Linked DNA regions of Homo sapiens: region 2 is linked to region 1. Evidence: promoter capture Hi-C in human tissues and cell types (Jung and others, 2019). All regions are on one chromosome and are shown on one strand. Each heading gives the region's core, a stretch centred on a gene start or on the middle of the fragment in contact. The rest is flanking DNA. Distances are from core to core; before and after follow the strand shown. Region 1 holds the start of POLE4 (DNA polymerase epsilon 4, accessory subunit). Region 2 overlaps M1AP (meiosis 1 associated protein).

Evidence for each region. The method cuts DNA at HindIII sites, captures the fragments that hold promoters and counts their contacts. A contact is called where the count stands out against the background at its distance.
Region 2: a fragment that was not itself captured here is called in contact with the fragment with the promoter of POLE4 in region 1 in 1 of the 25 tissues and cell types used here (H1 embryonic stem cells).

What each region holds. Positions count from the first base shown.
Region 1 is chr2:74,956,171-74,962,070 of GRCh38, forward strand. It overlaps POLE4 (DNA polymerase epsilon 4, accessory subunit), which reads left to right and starts at 2,473. Exons shown (of 4, transcript NM_019896.4): 1 at 2,473-2,722; 2 at 3,171-3,255; 3 at 3,935-3,976. The coding sequence starts at 2,510. It overlaps LOC105374809 (a long non-coding RNA gene), which reads right to left and starts at 2,709. Exons shown (of 5, transcript NR_187884.1): 1 at 2,562-2,709. RefSeq lists enhancers at 2,059-2,559, 2,560-3,060 and silencers at 2,352-2,611, 2,682-2,921. The HindIII fragment of the contact is 11,068 bases long and covers 1-5,900 here.
Region 2 is chr2:74,640,899-74,646,506 of GRCh38, forward strand. The region is part of intron 1 of M1AP (meiosis 1 associated protein); the gene reads right to left. Among named protein-coding and RNA genes, the nearest start is that of M1AP, 4.6 kb to the right of the region's middle. The HindIII fragment of the contact is 6,169 bases long and covers 1-4,860 here.

The sequences.
Region 1 (5,900 bases), core at 1,223-3,722:
GCGTTCTTCCCTTTTTCAGTAGAATGCCCCCAGAAGGTCATATATCAGTTAAATTCCACCATTTTGCCTCTTAGTGTGCATGCGTGAGCCCGCTCGCCCAACTCCTGAGATCTCATCAGGAAGCTCCTGATCATCAGTTTCAGGGTTTTTCTATCTATAGGGAAACTGCCTTTCCCTGGCGCTGGCTATGAGCAATTATTATTTTAGAGAGGCGGTGTGACCACTGTCTGACCATCACCTGATGATCTTCTGACATTCCTGGTGGAGCGTGGGGGCCCTATCCTGCCCTGTTCGTGTCTGACTAGCTACCCACTGTAACATCACCACTCTTCGCAGTGAGTCATGGAAACCAGAATTCCTCTTTCCCAACGCAGGTCATAGAAACTAGAATTCTCCTTCCTCCAAGCAAGTCGTAAAACCTAGAAAGGTTATTTTCTGCCTTCTCCCTTGAAGACCCTCATTCCAGAAGGGTCCTGCCCTAATACCAGAAGGAATGCTACACAGGGAGGCCAAGAAGAATATGAACAGACAGGCCTTGCTGGGTTTCCCCATTCAGTCTATTACCATTAGACTATTATCATTCCCTTTTTGTCCAATCCCATTTCTTTTTCTTTTTAAGACACAGGGTCTCTCTCTGTCGCCCAGGCTGGAGTGCAGTGGTGCAATCATTGCTCACTGTAACCTTGAACTCCTGGGCTCAAGCAACTCTCCCACCTCAGCCTCCCAAGTAGCTAGGACTATAGGATCACAATACCCAGCTAATTTGTGTGTGTGTGTGTGTGTGTGTGTGTGTGTGTGTGTGTGTGTGTAGAAATGGGGTCTCCATCTGTTGCCCAGGCTGGTCTCAAACTCCTGGGCTCAGGCGGTCCTCCTGCCTTGGCTTCCCAAAGTGTTGGGATTACAAGTGTGACCCACCGTACCAGGCCTCTAATCACATTTCTACACAGCGATCCCTTCTTCATATAACCTAAGCATAAAAATAGTTTCCTCTAGGTCTCATGGTCTGCATTTTTGGACTCTCATGTCATGTAAAACTTTGATTAGACTTGTTAGGCTTTTTGTGTGTGTTATAGGAGTGTCAGCTGTGACCCTTAAAATGGGTAAAGAAAGGTTTCACACCTTTCCACTCCTACACCAGTCAGAGTTTACTACATAATTTTGGAACTGAGTGATTTCAGATGTGTTTAATTCAGCTTCATCTTGGCTTCACCACATTCTGCCCTGTGTATGCGACTCAGTAACCACTCTGCACCTCAATTTTTTCAAATAAGGTTTGAAAAAGAAGGTTATAATATTTACCTCAATAGGGTATTGTGAAAATTACAGAAGTTATGATTTACATAAATCTAAAACACTTTGAATCATGCACATAGTAAATGTTTAAAGGTGTTCACTATTATTATGATTGACTTAGATTAAACCTATTTTAAATATTAACTGTTCCTCTACGCTATCAGACCTCCAAGTGTGGTGTGGGGATTCATGGGGGTGGGAATTTTCTGGAGACCCTTTTCAGGAGTCCATGAGGCCAAAATTATTTTCTTAATACTACTATGAGGTTGCCTTTTTCATTCACATTCTCTCAAGATGTAGTAGTTTTTTAAGAGCTACCTGAGAAGTGCTAACGTTAGCAACAGAAGCAGCTAGAGAATCCAGTTCTCACATGAAATCAGACATTAGAGACTTTTCTTACTAGATTTAAAAAAAATTACTTGTCATAAAAATGTTGTTTGTTAGCTGGTAACGCATTAGTAATTTTAAATCAATATTTTAAAACTTTAATTCTAATATAGTAAGTATTGATATAACTGACAGAAACAAAAGCTCCCTGGGCTCTTTAACAATCTTTAAGACCGTAAAGGGATCTTGAGGTCAAATTTGAGAACCAAAGCTGTGATGCAACCTCTTTTTGAACAAACGTGGATGCCTCACCACCACAATTTCATCTTTTCTAGCCTCCATGACTTTTTCTTGTTTCCTCTGGCTGGGCTGAATTTCTTCATTTCTGCCTGCCAAAAGCCCTACCCCTCCTTCAAGAGCATCTATAACTGGTTATCCTTGAATTTGGTCCAGATTTCGCTGCCTCCTTGGCACCCTCTTCCACGATGCTGGGCCCTCCAGGGCCGGGCCTCCCTCGGACACGTGCCCTCGTTAGCCTTGGAATATGCACACTCTGTTTTGACGGAGACTCTCTTGCGAGCCTGGTCTAGATTTCTCCCCTCACCAGCCAGGCACAGGCACCAATGGGAGGTGCCTGGGCTCCACAGGCCCGTCGGGGCCAGAGGGTCGCCGGTAGCGTCAACCAAGTGCACGACAGCCCACGGGTGGCTAGGCGCGTGGGAAGAGCCGGAGCCCGACCCCCGCCCACCCGGTTTCCTGGCAGCGCACTGCCGCGTAGGGGCGGAGCCGCGCGCCTACACAGGGTGTGGCCTCCAGCCCGCGCGGGAAAGGGCCTGCGCCGCATGCGCGCGCACAGTCGGCGGCCGCGCGCAGCACGCTCAAGGCCGGGATGGCGGCGGCGGCGGCGGCAGGAAGCGGGACGCCCCGAGAGGAGGAGGGACCTGCTGGGGAGGCAGCGGCCTCGCAGCCCCAGGCCCCAACGAGTGTGCCTGGGGCTCGTCTCTCGAGGTTGCCTCTGGCGCGAGTGAAGGCCTTGGTGAAGGCAGATCCCGACGTGACGCTAGCGGGACAGGAAGCCATCTTCATTCTGGCACGAGCCGCGGTGCGCCTGCAGCGCGAGGGCATGCGGGAGTGGGGGAGGTGGAGTGTGGGGCGGGGCCTCGGGGCCTCCCGCGGGCGGGGCTTAGGGCGGCGTGGCCCGGGTTTTGAGATGTGGGCGTGGACCCGGAAGGCGGAGGAAAGGGGCCGGGGACCTGTGCGAGTTTTGTTAACACTCCTCCCTCTTGTTGAGGACCTGGATAGTGAGTGACTTTAATTTGTATCTCCAGGGCCTCGTACAGAACTTGTAGGAGTCTTTAGTGAATGAGGGAGAATACTGGGAAGAGGGTAGCGGAATGGATCTTCATGAAGTCCAGGACAATCTTAGCTTCCAGAACATTTTCTTGCCCCGAGCCTTTCTTCTCCCTTTCTGCCCCCACCCACAAACCGGAGCCCTCACCTCCTCAGTGTGTTAGAACCCATTACTAAAACTTTGCTTTTTTACTTCACAGGAACTGTTTGTGGAGACCATTGCAAAAGATGCCTACTGTTGCGCTCAGCAGGGAAAAAGGAAAACCCTTCAGAGGAGAGACTTGGGTAGAGTGGCACTGCAGTGTCTGGGGACAGACAAGGGAGGGCTGGGCTGGTTTCCCCTTGTGCAGGTTGAGAAGACGTCACTCTGATCTGAGAGGTGCCACAGCGTCTCTCCCCAGGATGGTTTCTGTTGGCCACAGTGCCAGGAAGCCCTACCTGTAGAGGCTGTCTGCTTGGGGTGGCGGGGCAGTGTGTGAAGGTGTCTGGGGTTGCCGTAGCGGACTGGATCCCTTCATACCTTCTGCCAAATTGCACCAGAAAAAGATATTTCTTTTTCACCTAGCAACTGGGGATTTGATTTCTGACTCTTGTCTGGCTGGGAACCCTCACCTGGGTAAGATTTCGTATACCGTATTCTCATGCGCCCTGCGTCTATTGCCACGTTCTTCTCTGACAACTTTAAGAGCAAAGCGAATAAATAATTTAGGGGTAATTTAGGAGGCCCCCAACCCCCGCGTTGAATGGTATTTGCCTATGCTTTTCTTAACTCTTCTAGGGAGACAGCTAATATATATAAGAGTTGCTGGTAGAGTAGATATGGATCTCAAGGCAGCAAGGGACGCATCTTATAAATGCCCTCATTTGCCCAAAGCCTCATGCCCTTCACTGCAGATTGTGCTGTTTTCTGACTGAGGTCAGCATGGCTGAAGTTAGTCAGGTGTCTCTTTTCCTTGTGTTTCAGATAATGCAATAGAAGCTGTGGATGAATTTGCTTTTCTGGAAGGTGAGTTCCCTCTCAGTGGGCAATCATTTCCGCCTGTCTTTTGCATGTTGATGTGAAATTCAAAATCTCATAAAACGGATGCCTGCTTCTTGTTTGTGTAGGGATAATTCTCCGCACTTGCTATTAGGATAGAAAAAAGTAACTTGCTAAACCTAGTGAGGTTCAGTTTTCTCCCTTGGGGAATTAAAATTTCTACCTGAAAATTGCTAACCATAAAGAAATAGGAGGGAATATAAAGATCCCAGTGGAGTTAGATGAATTCGAAAGTTCGATTCCTACTTTGATCGCCATCCCTAAATGTCAGGCTTGCCCCCCCTCATCATGTTACAGATCAGAAACAATTGTTAACATTTAAAGGGTCACCGCTTGTTCTTTTTTCTTCAACAATCTGTGTGAAGTGATTATTTTGCTGCAATAAGACTTGTACTTGTCTGTATTTTTAGGAGTCATGGATTAACTTGTGTACTAACTAAATTTTGTCATTAAAAAAGAAAATATTTGAAATACCTAATTTTAGCTACCTAGCCTCAGAGCGATTTCTGCTACTTAATTCTTCAGTCTGATCAGCTTACTCTTCACTACACGTATGTAGTCATGTGCTGCGTAATAACTTTTTGGTCAGCCATGGACTGCTCACATGAGGGTGGTCCCATCAGATTATAATGGAGCTGAAAAATTCCTTTTGCCCAGTGAGGTAGTGGTCATAACATCCTAATGAAATACATTACCTTTTCTATGTTTAGATTTGTTTAAATACACTTATCCTCATGTTACAGTTGCCTACAGTATTCAGTACAGTAACATGCTGTTCAGGTTTGTAACCTGACAACAATAGGTATACCCTGTAGACTAAGTGTGTAGTAGGCTATACCATCTAGCTTTGTGTAAGTACCCTCTATGGTGTTCACACAGTGGTGAAATCGCCTGAAGATGTGATGCATTTCTCAGGATGTATCCTTGTTGTTGAGCGACACATGTATTTTGATTGAATAGCTTAGCAAAAGCCATGTATCCTTATTCTCCCAGGGTGTTCTCATTACCTCCTTCAAGCCTTATTACCTTTAGAAATATCTTGATTTATTCCACTCTTTTTTACTCCTTTGTTCTGCATCTCCCTGTCAACCTAGGCCCCTGGTCCTTTTGATAGATATTTTTTAAATGTCTTATTAGATAGATAGACTACCATGGCCAACTCTATGTCTAGACTATTGAGCATTCTTTTAATTTGCAGATTTTTCTTCAGCCTCTCTTTCCACCTACTCATTTTTCTTAAAATTAACTTTTGTTAGTCCTACCTAAGGCAGGCACTCCTTGTGACAGACTTTCTGTAAGTTCTGCAGTCAAAAATGTTTGGAGCCTACTTTACCTCTTCATTTTTAATTACCAGCTTTTCAAAGACATGAGTGATATGATCAGATTTGTATTTTAAGTGCACAACATTGCTGCCCTGGGGAAAATAAACTGGAGGGTACTAGGAATAGAAGTGGGGTGGTCTTATGTAGTTTTCCACTCTAGCCTCTATCACAGCATAGTGCTTAGCTTGGATTTTTAATAAATGGCCATTTATTGAATGATTGGTGTGTTTATTTTCATCCTCTGCCTTCATCCTCATTTATCTCTGTAATTGAATCCCTTTGCTCTGTCCTACATTGGTAGATCTGAATGTTAGCCATCATAGCCCCTGTGGATTCAGTCTGCATTATATTATTTTTTACTGGGTAAAATAAATGTTCTTATGTCCTTAGGTGTGTATGGTCTAAGTAAATACATTTTTTTCGTTTTTATAATACATATCCATACTTGAAAATCAAATCGTTACCTAATGGCTTATAATGAAGTACAGCTGCCGTCCACCCACTGTTTTGTTTGTGTTTTGAGCTTTTCTGGTGGTTACGTTTATTTCTAACTAATATGCTTACCCATT
Region 2 (5,608 bases), core at 526-3,025, 320 kb before region 1:
CCTCATAAACTTTGTTTCTTTATTGGCATTTATTGCACTCTATTACAATTTGTTTCTATGACTGCCTCTCCCACTATATTGTAAGCTTCCCAAGGGTAGAGAACCTGTCTTGTTGATATTATTCATCAATGCCTAGCATATGTGTGTTTAGTACCTAACGAATAATTCTTAAAAATGAAAATATGACTACATTTCTCCTTGGTTAAAATTCTTTGGTTGTCTGAATCTCTTATAAGGTAAAATTTAAACTGTCTTTAAGACCTGTCATTACTTAATTGTTAGCCTCATTAGAAATTGTTCTTCGCCTCAAGATTTTCACGGAAACAATACCAAATATATTCACTTTAGTGCATTTGCTCATGCTGCTTCTCTGCCTCCAATACTCCTGCCTTCTTTCTCTACTGGCTACTTATACTTATCCCCAGGACTCAGATTAGGAAGTGAGAACAATTGAGAACAAAGAACCAATATAAGGAATGAGAAAGGGACATCATCACAAATGCTCAAACGTGAAAAGGGTTATAGGAGGACATAATGAATAGCTTTATGCTAATAAGTTTGATAAAGTGGACAAATTCCTAGAAAAATGTATCTAACCAATACTAAAGAAATTTTAGAAACCTAAATAGTCTATAATCATTAAGGAAATGTAATTGGTAATCAAATATCTTCCCACAAGTAAGAGGGTCAGATGATTTCACTGATGAGCTCCATCAAACATGCAAAGACCAAGAATTTCAATCTTTTTTTTTTTTTTTGTAGAGATGGGGTCTTGCCATGTTGCCCAAGATGGTCTCAAACTCCTGGGCTCAAGTGATCCACCTGCCTCGGCCTCCTGAAGTGCTGGGATTACAGGTGTGAGCCACCGCGCCCAGCCAAGAATTTCAATCTTAAACAAATTATTTTAAGAACAGAAGAACATATATAACAGGATACACTCCTCAACTAATTTTTTTTTTTTTTTTAGATGGAGTTTCACTCTTGTTGCCCAGGCTGGAGTGCAATGGCATGATCTTGGCTCGCTGCAACCTCCGCCTCCCGGGTTCAAGCGATTCTCCTGCCTCAGCCTCCTGAGTAGCTGGGATTACAGGCATGTGCCACCATGCCTGGCTAGTTTTGTATTTTTAGTAGAGACAGGGTTTCTCCATGTTGGTCATGCTGGTCTCGAACTTCTGCCCGCCTCGGCCTCCCAAAGTGCTGGGATTACAGGCGTGAGCCACGGCACCTGGCCTCCTCAATTAATTTTACGAGGTTAGCACGACCTTTGAAAGTGAAACCAGATAAAGGTGTAATAAGAAAAAAATTATAGGATAATCTCACCCATAAACTTGTAAAAATTCTAAATAAAATATAGAGAAATTGAAACTAATAATATACAAAAAAAAACAGCATGACCAAGTTGAGTTTATCCCAAGAACATAAGGTTGATATAACATTAGAATATCAATCACGTAATTCGTCACATTAAAAAAGTAAATGAGAAAAATGATATGATCATCCCAATAGACGCAAAAAAGCCTCTGTTTAAAACCCAGCATTTGTGCATGATAAAGACTGAGTAAGAATAGATGATAGGAATAATCTGACAAAATATATTTACAAAAAGAGAGAGCAAACATCATTCTTCATGGTGATATGTTGAAAGCTTTCCATGTAAGACAAGGAGCATGCTATCATCACTTCTATTCAGCATTATAGTGAAGGTAGTAATGAGGTAAGACAAATAAATAAAAGGCATTGCAATGGAAGAAAGAAAACTGTCATTGTGTGCCAATGATTGTGTATATAGAAAATCTAAAATAATCTACAGCTTTGTAATTTTTCCCAAAAGATCTCCTTGTCTTTTGTCAAATTTTAGTCTTAGGGATCTGTTGATTTTTAAATATTAATTTACATTTCAAAGAACTATCGATGACAAAGTTTCCCTTTCTCATCTTTTTAAATTTCATTTTTAGTTTGTTGCTTATGTATAGAAATATAGTTAATTAAAACAATCTTTTATAGAGATGGGGTCTTGCTATGTTGCCCAGGTTGGTCTTGAACTTCTGAGCTCAACCAATCCAACCGGCTCTGCCACCCAAAATGCTGGGATTATAGGCATGAACCACTGTGCCCAGCTATAATTAATTTTTGTATATTGACTTTAACAACCTTGCTGCACTCTCTTACTAATTATAATAATTTATCTATAGAACTTTTTGGATTTTTTTTGTTCTTAATCATATAATCTTTAAATAATCATATATAACAGGATACATGAAAAAAAAGTCAGATCATAGCAGCCAAAAGACTATTAATAACAATCTTGTTCACAATTACCCAAAACTGAAAAAAACACAAATGTCAATCTACATTAAAATGGATAAATCATAGTATATTTCCACATACAGCAATGAAGATGAATGAACTGCAGTTCCATGTGGCAACATGGATGATTCTAAGAAACATAATATTGAGTAAAAGCAGCAAGACACAAAGAATACATACACATGTAGCATGATTTCATCTACATTTTAAAAATAAGCAAAAGTAGTTATATTGTTTAGAGGTGCATACACAGTGATAAAATTATAAAGAAAAGCAAAGAATTGATTATCACAAAAATGAGGGTAGTGATTTTCCCTAGGAAAGAATGAAGGCATTATGATGAGAAGAGACAAAAGAAGGGGGTCCTGGGGTGTTGGTAATGTTCTTTTTTTTTTTTTTTTTTGAGACAGGGTCTCGCTCCATCGCCCAGGCTGGAGTGCAGCAGTGGCCCAATCTCAGCTCACTGCAACCTCCACCTCCCAGGCTCAAGTGATCCTCCCACCTCAGCCTCCTAAGTACCTGGCACTACAGGCATGCACCACAATGCCTCTCTAATTTGTGTGTTTTTTTGGTAGAGACAGGGTTTTGCCATGTTGCCCAGGCTGGTCTCAAACTCCTGGGCTCAAGCAATCCTCCCACCTTGGCCTCCCAAAGTACTGGGATTACAGGGATGAGCCACCACTTCCAGCCTAATGTTCTATTTCTTGATCTTTATTGTGGATATTGGGTATTCACTTTCTACTATTAAACTACACATTCATGTTTTATGACATTTTCTGTATATATGTTATATTTAATAATAAAAATATTTCAAGAAGAACATTAGGACAATCAAAAGAAAACAAAAGAAATATGATAAAAAAGATAGCTAAAAAATATGTCCCCACCTCTGAGAACTAAAATCATTCTATATAATTGTTTTTAGCTAAAGAATGTAGGGAAAATTAAAGCTTATTTGATTTCCCCTGTGACAATACAAAGATAATTATGATAATTTTCAGAAACACTTTGGAATTTAGAATCTTTAAAAATGATCTAAGAATACATAGATAGGCCGGGCGCAGTGGCTCACGCCTGTAATCCGAGCACTTTGAGAGGCTGAGGCGGGTGGATCTCAAGGTCAGGAGTTTGAGACCAGCCTGACCAACATGGTAAAACCCCATCTCTACTAAAAATACAAAAATTAGCCGGGCGTGGTAGCACGCGCTTGTAATCCCAGCTACTCAGGAGACTGAGGCAGGAGAATCGCTGGAACCCAGGAGGCGGAGGTTGCAGTGAGCCAAGATCGCGCCATTGCACTCCAGCCTGGGTGACAGCGCGAGACCCCGTCTCAAAAAAAAAAAAAAAAATACATAGATAGATGTATTTCCCCAAATGAATCAGTGAAGTTATTCTCTTCAAACTTCCCTTTTTGGATAGTGGAAGTCAGCATTTGTTCATTCAACATTTTTAAAAATTGAGTTCCAATTACGTGCTGGATACAGCTAGAAAAATAAATGAATTAATATGCTAATCTGTTGAAAGTCATCTTGAACCAGAAACCCAAATCAATTACTAATGTATTTACCAAGAAAGCACATAACATATTTTTAAACTGTACTTTAAGTACATGGGGCCAATTTCTACATGGAATGCTGAACTTGAAGCTGACACAGAGAAATTCACACAAACAGGTAGTCAGAGGCCTTATTTAATGTATAATTAAATTTAATTATCCATCTCCATCTCTCACATCTGAAAACGCCATTTTAAAGTAGAGGCAGGACAACCTGCTCAGGTCCCCTTCCACACTGTGGAAGCTTTGTTCTTTCGCTCTTTGCAATAAATCTTGCCGCTGCTCACTTTTTGGGTCCGCACTGCCTTTATGAGCTGTAATACTCACCGTGAAGGTCTGCAGCTTCGCTCCTGAGGCCAGGGAGACCACAAACCCACCGGGAGGAATGAAAAACTCCACACACGCCGCCTTAAGAGCTGTAACACTCACTGCAAAGGTCTGCAGCTTCACTCCTGAAGCCAGCGAGACCATGAATCCACCAGAAGGAAGAAACTCCAGACACATCCGAACATCAGAAGGAACAAACTCCGGACACACCATCTTTAAGAACTGTAACACCGCCAGGGTCCGCGGCTTCATTCTTGAAGTCAGCAAGACCAAGAACCCACCAATTCTGGACACAGTATTGCTGGGCCATAAGGCACGTATGAGTTTAGTTTTGATAGTGAGGTAGGAGGCGGGACTCAACTCTGCAGGAAGGGCTTGGACACCAGACCAAATTGAGGACTAGCTTAAACAGGGCGAGGGTGGAAGCAGCTTTCCATAAGACATGCCCACCAGTGTGCCCTGTCAGTTTACCATTGCCATGGCAACACTCAGAAGTTACCATCCCTTTCTATAGCAACGACTCTATGACCTGGAAGTTACCATGCTTTTCCTAGAAATTTCTGCATCAACTCCCCCTTAATTTGCATGTAATTAAAACTGGGTATAACTATGACTGCTGAACTACCTCTGAGCTGCTATTCTGGGCACACTGCCTATGGGGTAGCCCTGCTCCACAGTTGCAGTACCTCTGCTGCTGCTGTACACTGCTGCTTTAATAAAAGTTGCTGTTTAACATCACCAGCTCACCCTTGAAAAAAATAAAAATAAAAAAATAAAGTAGAGGCAGTCCTCATTTTGCATGGTTCAAGTATATAGATTTCAGTTACTACAGTTTAGTTAATTAACACTAGTCTTCCAACAACACAGTTCAAATTTCAGTTACCATGGAATATTAACTGTAATTACATAAAGTAGTATCTAGCTCTTTAGTTCACGAATTACTAGTTATCAGTATCAATAGTATAGTATACTGATATAGCGTACTGATATAATATAGTGATCAGTGCATCATGATCAGTAATTAATTATATCACTTCTTTCAAAGTCTGTTGGTGACCCGTCACTGCAGATCCATTAGTCAGTTAAAGCACAGACAGAAGTGTGTAGTTGTGTCGCCTCCTTGTCTCCTAGTGATAAGCCCATGTGATGTTTTATAAAAACAAAAACTGAAAGAGGAAACTAGCCGATAAAAGGAGCAGCAAAGAAATAAAAAATGATAATGCCAGGAGTGAAATCTGAATCTAACATAAGTGGAGTTAAAGGAGAAACAGCTGACTATGAGAGTGTTGACACTGCCTCCACCTGATAGACTCTAGAGAAGCAGCCAGAGGAATTTAGTGAAGGCAAACTTATCAACATACTTGAGGAAAGTCATTGTGATGAAAAGGATGAAGACATCCTACAGAAAGGGCCACTGGC